Regions from separate parts of the Homo sapiens genome. Here region 2 is linked to region 1. The links are contacts of gene promoters, found by promoter capture Hi-C in blood cells and fetal thymus (Javierre and others, 2016). All regions are on one chromosome and are shown on one strand. The core of a region is centred on a gene start or on the middle of the fragment in contact, and the rest is flanking DNA. Distances in the headings are between cores, read along the strand shown.

Region 1 (6,059 bases), core at 2,529-5,028:
TGGAAAACACAGAGGAGAACCGCCGGCTGTACCGCCAGGTCCTGTTCAGTGCTGATGACCGTGTGAAAAAGTGCATTGGAGGCGTCATTTTCTTCCATGAGACCCTCTACCAGAAAGATGATAATGGTGTTCCCTTCGTCCGAACCATCCAGGATAAGGGCATCGTCGTGGGCATCAAGGTGCAGCCCCTGGCCCTGCTCTGAATGGAAGCTGGGTGTGAAAATAAGCTTGTGTAGGAGGGGTAGCAAGGAGAATCCTGCCTGGATTCAACCCTCTGCTTGTACTTCCTCTACAGGTTGACAAGGGTGTGGTGCCTCTAGCTGGGACTGATGGAGAAACCACCACTCAAGGTATAGGATGGGTGGGCTTGAGGACCAAAGAGGTGTTAGATAGTTGATGCTGGTAAAAGAGGGGCAGAGTAATGAGGTTGGCACTGTGCTTGCAGGGCTGGATGGGCTCTCAGAACGCTGTGCCCAATACAAGAAGGATGGTGCTGACTTTGCCAAGTGGCGCTGTGTGCTGAAAATCAGTGAGCGTACACCCTCTGCACTTGCCATTCTGGAGAACGCCAACGTGCTGGCCCGTTATGCCAGTATCTGCCAGCAGGTGTGTGTGTTGGGAGGGTGGTGAGCTAGGTGCCCTGTATGCCTGGTGGGGAGAGAGTCACAAGGCTTTCTTCATCTCCCCTACTGCCCCTCCCAAGCATCTCTGCTCTTGCCTGCAGAATGGCATTGTGCCTATTGTGGAACCTGAAATATTGCCTGATGGAGACCACGACCTCAAACGTTGTCAGTATGTTACAGAGAAGGTGAGTCCACACCTGGGCACACAAACATACTGCAGGGACAGCTCGGCAGGAGTGTCTGTTCCCCAGAACCCCCAGCTTAGATCCAGGCACACTTTCCCCTAGCACTTTTTCACTTCATCCCGGCACAGGCCTGTGATCTGAGCCTGTACTGAGCCCTCACAGTCTGTGCCCATCTACCCCTACATAGGGAGCATCGAGCAGTAACCAGTGGGGGCCCAGACCCTTAGTAAACCTCCTCTAATCCCCACCCAGGTCTTGGCTGCTGTGTACAAGGCCCTGAGTGACCATCATGTATACCTGGAGGGGACCCTGCTCAAGCCCAACATGGTGACCCCGGGCCATGCCTGTCCCATCAAGTATACCCCAGAGGAGATTGCCATGGCAACTGTCACTGCCCTGCGTCGCACTGTGCCCCCAGCTGTCCCAGGTACTACCCAGCTCCCTAACCTGCTCCTATCCCTAAGGCCCATCTTCAGGTCCTTCTTGTGGCCTTCAGGGGTTCCCTATCCTGGAAAAATTGGGAGTGACCAGTCAGTTTGTCTTCTCTCCTCCACACTAGGAGTGACCTTCCTGTCTGGGGGTCAGAGCGAAGAAGAGGCATCATTCAACCTCAATGCCATCAACCGCTGCCCCCTTCCCCGACCCTGGGCGCTTACCTTCTCCTATGGGCGTGCCCTGCAAGCCTCTGCACTCAATGCCTGGCGAGGGCAACGGGACAATGCTGGGGCTGCCACTGAGGAGTTCATCAAGCGGGCTGAGGTTGGGAGCTACAGGTGGTGGTGGGTGGGGGCAGCACCCAGAGGCTATAGCCTGGGCAGGGCTTGGCACCTGTGGGCTGGCTCAGCCTGCTTACTCCACGCTCCCTTTTGCAGGTGAATGGGCTTGCAGCCCAGGGCAAGTATGAAGGCAGTGGAGAAGATGGTGGAGCAGCAGCACAGTCACTCTACATTGCCAACCATGCCTACTGAGTATCCACTCCATACCACAGCCCTTGGCCCAGCCATCTGCACCCACTTTTGCTTGTAGTCATGGCCAGGGCCAAATAGCTATGCAGAGCAGAGATGCCTTCACCTGGCACCAACTTGTCTTCCTTTCTCTCTTCCCTTCCCCTCTCTCATTGCTGCACCTGGGACCATAGGATGGGAGGATAGGGAGCCCCTCATGACTGAGGGCAGAAGAAATTGCTAGAAGTCAGAACAGGATGGCTGGGTCTCCCCCTACCTCTTCCAGCTCCCACAATTTTCCCATGATGAGGTAGCTTCTCCCTGGGCTCTCCTTCTTGCCTGCCCTGTCTCCTGGGATCAGAGGGTAGTACAGAAGCCCTGACTCATGCCTTGAGTACATACCATACAGCAAATAAATGGTAGCAAAACATTCTACTTTGCCTGTCTGTTTTACACATCAAATTCCCACCTCCCAGTTTCTGATCTCTGCTAATTCTATCTCTGGGCCCTCTGACTCTGGAGGTGGAGAGGGTGGGATTTGAGTCTTACTGGGCTTCAAGTTATGGAGGAAGGGCACATGCAGTCACCATCCCCAGCTCAGGCTCTTGCTCTCTTGATGTCCAAGTCTGGAGTGGGGCAATGAGGAAGACTGCAAGTCTTCTAGGGACTGCCACATCAGTGGCACTGGGCTGCAGCTACAGAAGTATGGAGTGAGGCCAAACTGGCAACTCCTGAAGGCAGATTTGTGCAAGGCTCAAAGCAGGGAGGCAGCAAGACAGGCTGGGATAAGAGTGGGTGGGAGTCTCTCCCATCTCGCAGTGTTAAGCCCAGCTGGGACCTGGTACCTTCCACTAGGGTGAGCCACACCAGTAAGGGCAAGCGAGCACCTGGACTCCCGCCCAAAGAGGAAAACCAAGGCTCTGCGGGCTGCCAGGGCTGAGCAGGGCATCTAGGAGGTTGCCAAGGGCTATGGCCCATTTTCATTTGGGGTAGAAGTGGGCACAAAGGGAGCCAATTGGAGGGTCTGGGTAAGGACAGCTCTGGTGAGGCCTGATGCTGAACTTTAACCACTGGGCTGGGTTGTGAGGTAGGCTGAGAACCTGGGTCTAAGCAGATAAAAAGAAGAGATAACAAGCTGCGTGTGTTCTGTGTCAACTGGGGAGGCTACAAATGCTCCACCCTGTGTGGCCTGACTTTATAATAACAAAAATAGCTTGCACATAGCACCAACCCTGTTCTAATCACTTTATATGTACTGACACATTTCATACAACTCTATAAAGTAGGTACTATTACTATCATCCCTATTTTAATAGAGAAAACAGGCACAGATAGGCACAGAACGATCTTCTCACGATCACTCACCTAATAAGTGATGAAGCCAGGATTTGAACCGCAGTGATCAGCATCTAGAGTCTGGGCTCATGACTTTTCAAGATTTTTAAGTGAAGTATTCTGAGTTTTCCAAGTTGGAAATGAATTAAAACGTATTTTAAAATAGCGAGAGAGCCAATTGTGCTAAAACATACTAGCTTGCTACCTCCGTGTTTGAGGCTTTGAGGAGAGGGCACCCTAAGAGGAGTTCTACGATAAGGATAATAAGACCGTGACAGTTGACGTTGAGGGCTTTCCGTGTGCCAGGCTCCTTACAAGAACGGCCTCATTTATGTAAATATCTCCATTTTCAGATGAGCCTCGGAGCTGCCTGTAGTTGCCCAGCTAGTATTTAAGGACTGCAGAGGTTGCGCTCTTGATTGCGGGGCTAGAAGTGTGTTCTACAGGGAAGCGGGGAACTTCGTTCCAGCAGCGCCGAAACCCGCACGGCCCCTAGGCTGTCCCTCCGCGCCCGGGTGACTTCCTTTCAGATCCCCAGCGAAGCTCCCAGCGGAGCCCTCCCACCCCTCGCCCGCTTGCTCCCGTCTGCGGGTCTGGAGTAGCGCTCGCGATTGGCCCCGATCACCGCCGCGGTCCTGCCCCCTCGTTGCAGAGATTCCGATTGGGTGAGGCTCACGAAGCTCTGCCCCCACGGTGGCCGGAGCAGCCGGAAGCTAGCATGGCGGCCGCCGGGGCTGCGGCTACACACCTAGGTGCGGTGGGCTTCGGGTGGGGGGCCTGCAGCTAGCTGATGGCAAGGGAGGAATAGCAGGGGTGGGGATTGTGGTGTGCGAGAGGTCCCGCGGACGGGGGGCTCGGGGGTCTCTTCAGACGAGATTCCCTTCAGGCTTGGGCCGGGTCCCTTCGCACGGAGATCCCAATGAACGCGGGCCCCTGGAGGCCGGTGGTTGGGGCTTCTCCGCGTCGGGGATGGGGCCGGTACCCTAGCCCGTTTCCAGCGCCTCAGTCGGTTCCCCATGCCCTCAGAGGTGGCCCGGGGCAAGCGCGCCGCCCTCTTCTTCGCTGCGGTGGCCATCGTGCTGGGGCTACCGCTCTGGTGGAAGACCACGGAGACCTACCGGGCCTCGTTGCCTTACTCCCAGATCAGTGGCCTGAATGCCCTTCAGGTGAGACTGCTGTGCGGGAGGGTCGGGGGACAGCCCCCCCGGCAAGGTGGAGACTCAGTGACGGCCCTGATGCTCCTTCCTGTAGCTCCGCCTCATGGTGCCTGTCACTGTCGTGTTTACGCGGGAGTCAGTGCCCCTGGACGACCAGGAGAAGCTGCCCTTCACCGTTGTGCATGAAAGAGAGATTCCTCTGAAATGTGAGTTACTGGGGATCAGGGCTGCTTTTCGCCTCTGAGCTCAGTTCAGAGCTGAGTTGGGTGGGAGGAGCGGGGGTGTACCATAAACGCAGTTAAAAACTTACTGTTGAAAGACCTCTGAATGAACAGTGTGTTTGGTCAGAAAAAAACTACTTTCAAATTCACAGTCACTAAATAGCAATTTTACTCGTAAGACAGGCTACCTAATCGGAAGCAGTTGATGCCCATCAGGGTATAGGGGAAGAGGTGGGATATAGTGGAAAGAACACAGAGTTTGAAATTAAATTGGATTTGCATATAGGCCCTATTTAGTTTGTTTGTTTATTTATTTATTATATTTTGAGACGGAGCTTCGCTCTGTCGCCCAGGCTGGAGTGCAGTGGCGCCATCTTGGCTCACTGCAACCTCTGCCTCCTGGGTTCAAGCGATTCTTCTGCACCAGCCACCCGAGTAGCTGGGATTACAGGCGCGCGACACTACGCCCAGCTAATTTTTGTATTTTTAGTAGAGACGGGGTTATGCCATGTTGGCCATGCTGCTCTCGAACTCCTGACTTCAGGTGATCCGCATGCCTCAGCCTCCCAAAGTGTTGGGATTACAGGCGTGAGCCACCGCGCCCAGCCCCTATTCAGTTTAACATTAAACACTTTACTGGGGTACTTTTTTTTAGGTACCAAGAATTTAGGAATGAATAAGAAATTGATAATGGTTTCAAGATGTTCATAGGTAGGGGAGAAAGATAAAATAAATTACAGTAGAAGTATACAAGAAACAGAGATTGCACTTAGTAAAGAGTATTAACCATCTGGGAGGAAAGAAAGGCAGAGAAAGTTTTGAGAGATGTAATTCTTAAGTCGGATTTTTAAAGGATGTGTAGGAATTCAGGTTAAGTGGGAAAAGGAGGGAGAGAATTTCAGGCAAAGTTAATAGCATGAGACAGTATAAGGATAGCTGATAGTTGTTGCTCGCTGTGTGCCAGAAACTAGGTGAAGCATTTTATATGTGTTGCCTCATTTAATCCTTTCTAATGATATGATCCCCATTTTATAAATGAAGAAACTGAGCCTTAGAGAATTTAACTTGTGCAAGGTCACACAGCTAGTAAGAGATGGAACTGGGATTTAAATCCAGGCCTGACTGATTCCAGTGTTCAAGCTTTTAACCAACAAACTATACTCCTGTGTGAAAGTGTGGCGGGGTGAATCAGCATATTGGGGGACCTATGAGCAGTTTTGCCTTACTGGAATGTGTAGTGAAAGACTGGGAATGACTGGAGATTTGGGCTGAGTCTAGAGCATGAGGCATCTGTGTGCCATTTACTTTTTTAGTTCTTTAGCCTTGGTGAAAACTTTTCTTTTCTTTTTTTTTTTTTTTTTTGAGAAAGGGTCTCTCTTTGTTGCCCAGGCTGGAGTATGGTGGCACGATCAGGGCCCACTGCAGCCTTGACCTATTGGGCTCAAGCGATCCTCCCATCTCAGCCCACCTGCCTTAATAGCTGGGACTACAGCCGCACACCATCACACCCAGCTGATTTGTTTTGGTATTTTTAGTAGAGATAGGGTTTCGCCATGTTGCCCAGGCTGGTCTCGAGCTCCTGGGCTCAAGTGAT
Region 2 (6,059 bases), core at 2,510-5,009, 71 kb after region 1:
TGTACACAGAGCTAATTGTTATTTCTAGACTCACAGATATTTCTGTATGGATACTCTGGGCACAGAAAACCACAAAAGTTGTAAGTTGAAGGCTGCCATGGTTGTTATCAATGAACATTATTCTGAAAGCCCCAACCAGTACAATAAGAGAAAGAAATAAGGCATTAATATAAGAAGGAAGGATGCAAAACCTTCAAGAATTACAAATGTTGTGCTTATTTAGGAAATCGAAGAGAATCGACTAAAATACTATTACAACAAATGAGAGAATGAAGTAAGATAGCAGAATATATCAATGTATAAAAATCAAAACCATTTCTATACAGCTAAAACAACCAATTAAAATAGGAGATAGCTGGGCACGGTGGTTCACACCTCAGCAATTTGGGAGGCTGAGGCGGGTGGATCTCTTAAGCTCAGGAGTTCAAGACCAACCTGGGCAACATGGCAACACCCTGTCTCTACGAATAATACAGAAATTAACTGGGTGGGGTGGCACGCGCCTGTAGTCCCAGCTACTTGGGAGGCTAAGGTGGGAGGATTGCTTGAGCCAGTGATTCAGAGGTTGCAGTGAGCCGAGAGGTTTCGGTGAGCCACTGCATTCTAGCTTGGGGGACAGAGTGAGACCCTGTCTCAAAAAAAAAAAAAAAAAAAAAAAAGAAAGAAAAAAAAGGAGACAAAAAGATTTAGCTCACAAAAATAACAATACAAAATATCCAGGAATAAACTTAATAAGAAATGCATGAAATCTACATGAAGAAAACAATACATTTTTACTGACAGACATAAAATAAGACCTGAATAAAAAATAAGGGCATATCATGTTACTGAACTGGAAGGCTGAAAAAAAAAAAAAAAAGTAAAAAAGAAAAAAAAGGCTAGGCATGGTAGCTCATGCCTGTAATCCCAGCACTTCGGGAGGTGAGAGGATCGCCTGATCCCAGGAGTTTTGACACCAGCCTGGGCTACAAGGCGAGAGACCCTGTCTCTAAAACAGCAACAACAGGAAGGCTGAATATAATATTGTAAGGATGTCAGTTCTCCTCTAAATAGAAGCTGAATGTAATTCAAATCAAAAGTCTAAAGGATTTTTTGCCCCCTAAACTTGACGAGTTGATTCTATAGTTTGGGGGAAGGGTAAATACATGAGAATAGCTTGGAGCTTTTTGAGAAAGAAGACTAACAGAGGTAACTTTCCCTGCCAGTTTTCAAAATGTTCAATAAGGCTTCCATAATTAAAGCTGCAACTTTGATACAGAAATAAATAAATTAATGGAAGATAATAGAGTCCAGAATAAACTTGGATATTTGTGAGAAATGGGAATATGATAACAAGGTATTTTAAAATAGATATATAATAGTAGGGTATTTTACTTTATTTTTCTGAGACAGGGTCTCGCTCTGTTGCCCAGGCTGGAGTGCAGTGGCAAGATCATAGCTCACTGCAGCCTCCACCTCCTGGACTCAAGTGATCCTCTCACTTCAGCCTCCCCAGTAGCTGGGACTACAGTTATACCATGCTCAGTTAGTTAAAAAAGAATTTTTTTTTGTAGAGATGGGGTGTTGCTCTGTTGCCCAGGCTGGTCTCAAACTCCCAAAGCACTGGTATTATAAGCTTGAGCCACGACATCTGGACTGTAAAGTATTTTAAAGTAGCAAGTAAAAAATTTAATAAATGGAGTTGGGGCAATGAACTTTCCATTGGAAAGAAATAAAGTTAAATCCTACTTCACACTGTACATTAAAAAATCTAGATGGATTAACAATCTAATGTAAAAATGAAAATCATACAAACAAATAGAAAAAATATAGGAAATATTTTTATGATTATGGAGTGGAGAAAGGCATTTTTAAACATGACATCAAATGCAGAAGCCATAAAGGAATACATTGACAGATTTGACTAAATAAAAACTGTAAATTTCTTTAGAGCAAAATGTAACATGAACAAAGTTAAAAGACATAACATAGCCTGGAAGAAAGTGTTGAAACATATGTAACAGATAGAGAGTTAATAGCCACAATATATAAGGAGCTCCTCTAAATAAATAAAAAGATGATTTCACAGAAAAATGGGCAAAGGACACAAGCAATTCACAGGTAAAATACAAACGGCCAAGACACAAGTGAAACGATTTTCAACTTCATTAAAAATCAAGAAAATGCAAATTAATTCAGGGGCCAAGGGTCTCAGGGAGGCCCTGATGGGATGCCCAGGAGAGACTGTAGTTATCACCTCCCACAGTGAGACTGCTTCTGGCGGGTGAGATGAACTTCTTTCTCTTCCAAATCAGGATCCACCTCTGCCCCAGGAATGGGTGTAGGCTCTGGCTCTGGCTCCCTCTTTCCTTTGGGAAGCATGACTTCCTCATTGCATGCAGTCTGGGAGTTGAAACAGGAACCTTGGGATTGCCACAGTCCTTGGACTGAAAGGGGATTTGTGAGGTGTTTCTCCTCTGTCTCTAGATAGGACCATCCCCTCCTTCTCTCATCACACCAGCCCTCCAGAATTCTCTCTTAGGCCCAGAAAGTCTGTCCTGGTGTCTAGCCTCAACTCCAGCTGCTGCAGTATTGGGAAAGGACTTTTGTCTGGAGTTTTGGTCCCACACACTCCAGCACCCTCATTTCAGGTCCTCAGATGGAGCTGAGCTGGGCTCTGGCCTGGAGGAGCTGCAGCTAGATGCTTAGACAGGCTGGGGCCAGAGAAAGCTCTGTCCCTCTGAATACTGGAGGTCAGAAGCAGTTCACTGTATGCTGCTGAGCTGTGCCCAGGGCTGGGCTGCTTTGGGCCAGAAAACAGCCCTGGCTGGGGATGGAAATCCCTGGGGCCCATGTCTGCTATGCTTCAGTCTGGGGAAAGACCCTAGGGACGCTAGGAAGAAGGAAGAGCATGTGCCCACCCTTGGGAGCCCCAATGTGATGGAGGAGGGGGACCCCTTCCTGAACCCTGCATCTGGATTGGCCATCTTCTGTCTGCTTCCGCTCATGCAGGCTGGACTTGCTTTTCCAAAGTGAGTTCCCAAGATTTGAGCCTGCTGCTTTCCAAGTCTCACTCCACTGGTGTGCAAGACACTGAAGAACATCCACAGAGGAACAGGGCCCAAGCAAAGCTGCCATGAGGCCCTGAGGCCCAGGGACCACATGTCAAAGAAGGGGTGGGGAGATCTGGGGTTAATTAGGGTGAGCTTCCTGGGGAAGAGCAGACAGCTCATTGGCTGTGGCTGATGGAGAAGCACCCAGAGCTGTGGAGGGCGTGTGGCGGGGCAGCTGGGCCGAGGTCTGAGCCTGTTCTGGTTGGCTGACCCCCTGGGAAATCCAGGGAGTTTCCAATCTGAGAGCTTGGTGGGGGGGTCGGTGGGGGAGGAACACAGAGTCCTGCTGGGTGGGGAGGGCTTCTCACCTCTTGTCTTAATCCCTCCTGCTGTGGAGGTGGGAGAAGCAATGCTGGGGTGTGTGTGTTTTCACTGGTGTCAGTGTCTGTGTAAGTACATGTGTACCTCTGCATGAGTGTGTACGTATTTACATTTGTGTTCTCACTTTCACGTGTCACCATGGGTGCGCCTGAAGTCTGTGGAGCTGTAATGTGCTACTGGGTATGTCCGTGCCAGAATCTGTGTCTAAATGTGGGTAGCCACATGCAGCGAGAACACTCAGGTCTGACACGGGGTGCGGAGGCGTCTGAGCGACTGTGTGTGTACAGGTGGCTGTGGCTGTGTATGTCTGTGTGTGTTTCTGGGGGTGGTCCTGTGTGTCTTTCAGGCTGTGAGAGCCTGTAATGTTGTATGCATGAGTGTTTGTGTGTGAATGTGTGTAACTGTGTGTTCCCGGGTATCCATGTCTGTGCATGTGTCTATGGGTTCTGTGGGTACCCAAGGATCTGTGACTCCACGTACACACATTTGTGGGTCTTTCCACCCTTCAGAGCACTCTTCTGAGTCCCCGTCACATTCTTTCCAACTAGGCTGCTCTGTTCCCTTCCTTGCCTTCTCCTCTGCACACCCCCTTCCCCTTCCCTTGCCAAACTGGGGTGGAGGCTGCAGGGTTGGAGACTGGTACTCCACCAGAACTTCACCCACCCAGTTCTACTCGACCCCTGACCCAACACTCCCTAGCTTCCTCCACCCTTCCCTCCCTCCTTCAGAAAGCAGCCTCCCCTCCAAGACTGTGAGGAGATAGGAAGTCATGGCCTGCGCCCCCAAGGAGCCTACTCTGGGGCCAATGACCTTAACCTCTAGAGCGCACTTTGGCCGGGGCCCAGGTCCAGGTGAACTCAGAGAGTGGTGTGGACAGCCCTGCTCCTGCCTCCACAAGCTCCCTAACAAGCTCCACCTATCCCTGGGCCCTGTGGTTGCCATAGAGGGCTGGTGCTGGCTGGCAGGAGGAGGGAGTAGGGAAACAGGGACACTCCCAGGACCTCAGGGGACAGGGTCAGGGGAACACTATGGGTCGGCTCAGAAATCTGGGCCTATCTGCTGAGCTTAAGGTGACATTGGCCCAGAGAGGTCAAGATATTTCTCAAAGTCACACAGCACTCCACACACGGCAGTCTGGAAAGAGGCTTGGAGGGGAGCGTGTCCAGCTTCCCTCTGGGAGCAAGAAGCTCCCGTATAGTTCCCACACATTCCTCCTTCATGCACTATTTGCTGTGCCAGGCCCTGTGGAGGAACTGGGGACACAGCTCGAATCAGGCAGACTGTCCTCAAGTCACTTCCAGACTTGTTGATCTTAGCAATGGGATGCTCACTACCGCAGAAGTTGTTGAGTCCCAGCACCGCACAAGTCCAGCTGGTAGGAGACACCCAAAGCTCACTGCTAACTTCCTAGAAGCCATCAATGATGGGGTGTGGGTGCCTGGGCAGCGAGGCTGCAGACTCAGTCCCAGCAGGGCCCATCTACCTGCCGCAGCCTGGAGTGTGTGTGGAGCCGAGCTGCCGGGCTGCCTGTGTAAACCTGACCTGGCTGGCGGGCCCTTCCTTCAAAGACTAGCCCAGGCCGTGCCGCTTTATTGCCCAGTTAATGATGGTGATTAGGCCGACAGGTGCCACCTGCTGCCTGTCCACCCTCCTGCCTGCTAAAGAGGGTGTTTTCTGAGCACCTAGGGGAGGCTTGGCCCCAGAGCTCTGCCAGGGCATCCACCGCAGCCAAACTGTCGACCCTCAGGCTGGCTGGCGTCCACCTCCTTCCTGGAGAATGCAGGGCCAACCGGGTGCTCACTTTCTGGGACTGCTGTGTGATCTCAGTCCACACCTGACCCTCTCTGAGCCGGACTGAGGGGGAAGTGTGCCGAGAACAGTGGGCAGGGCATGTGCACCCTGAGAAGCACACTCTCCTTTTCCCCAGCCAGGGTCCAGAAGGAAGTGGCAGCAGAGGGTCCTCCTTGCAGATGGAGCTGGGCTGCTCCTTAGGGAGCCACTGCATTGTGGGTAGGCCACTGGGGGAGCCCCAACATTCTGGGGCCAGCCGTTTCCAATGCAGGGGACTGTTGCCTGGGGCTTTGGTGGGTGGGAGGGGGTCCTCCTGTGGGTCTGAGTGGGAGCTGTGATTTATGGCTGTGCTTCATGAGTGAGGAATGCCAGCCTGGGGGACCAGGGTGGGGCTGGAGCCACCCGCCTGACACTCCTGGCTCTCTGGGATGCCTGGCGTGTCCTGTCAGGACCCCCTGTCCCCTGGGGACAGCCACGTACTCCCCCACGCAGTGCCCCCTCCTAACTGCACTTCCAACCCCCAGCTCTGGGAGGACCCAGTGAAAGCCCGGCCCAGGGGGATCCAGAAGGAAATCCTTTCTGGTTTTCTCTCTTCACAGCCCAGCCCCCTTTTTCATTTGGGCATGAAGGTGATGAGAAATATCTCTTTTCTGTCCCACTGGAGGAGGAGGGGATGGGGTGAGACTCTAGGAAGCTTCCTTCTGGATGAACTCAAGGCTGACACGCCACTGTCCACAGTGGGCGAGACTTAGCATCAACACAAAGATGAACTTCCAGCAGGGAAGGGCTGTTTGGCTCGCAGATGGAACGATGGATACGGTGTCATTCTTCCCCATCCCCACCCCCACCTTGCTA

What was found. Contacts are between HindIII fragments. The CHiCAGO score rates a contact against its expected background, and 5 or more counts as called.
Region 2: a contact is called between a fragment that was not itself captured here and the fragment with the promoter of PIGS in region 1, in 3 of 17 cell types (naive B cells, total B cells and M2 macrophages). The highest score is 5.4, in naive B cells.

What each region holds. Positions count from the first base shown.
Region 1 is chr17:28,569,243-28,575,301 of GRCh38, reverse strand. It overlaps PIGS (phosphatidylinositol glycan anchor biosynthesis class S), which reads left to right and starts at 3,778. Exons shown (of 12, transcript NM_033198.4): 1 at 3,778-3,839; 2 at 4,114-4,253; 3 at 4,339-4,450. The coding sequence starts at 3,806. It overlaps ALDOC (aldolase, fructose-bisphosphate C), which reads left to right. Exons shown (of 9, transcript NM_005165.3): 3 at 1-179; 4 at 296-350; 5 at 446-606; 6 at 725-808; 7 at 1,061-1,235; 8 at 1,368-1,567; 9 at 1,681-2,182. The coding sequence ends at 1,776. RefSeq lists enhancers at 3,398-3,447, 4,138-4,257 and a silencer at 4,238-4,434. The HindIII fragment of the contact is 5,378 bases long and covers 230-5,607 here.
Region 2 is chr17:28,498,359-28,504,417 of GRCh38, reverse strand. No RefSeq gene overlaps it. Among named protein-coding and RNA genes, the nearest start is that of FOXN1, 5.0 kb to the left of the region's middle. RefSeq lists a silencer at 3,074-3,270. The HindIII fragment of the contact is 4,283 bases long and covers 1,618-5,900 here.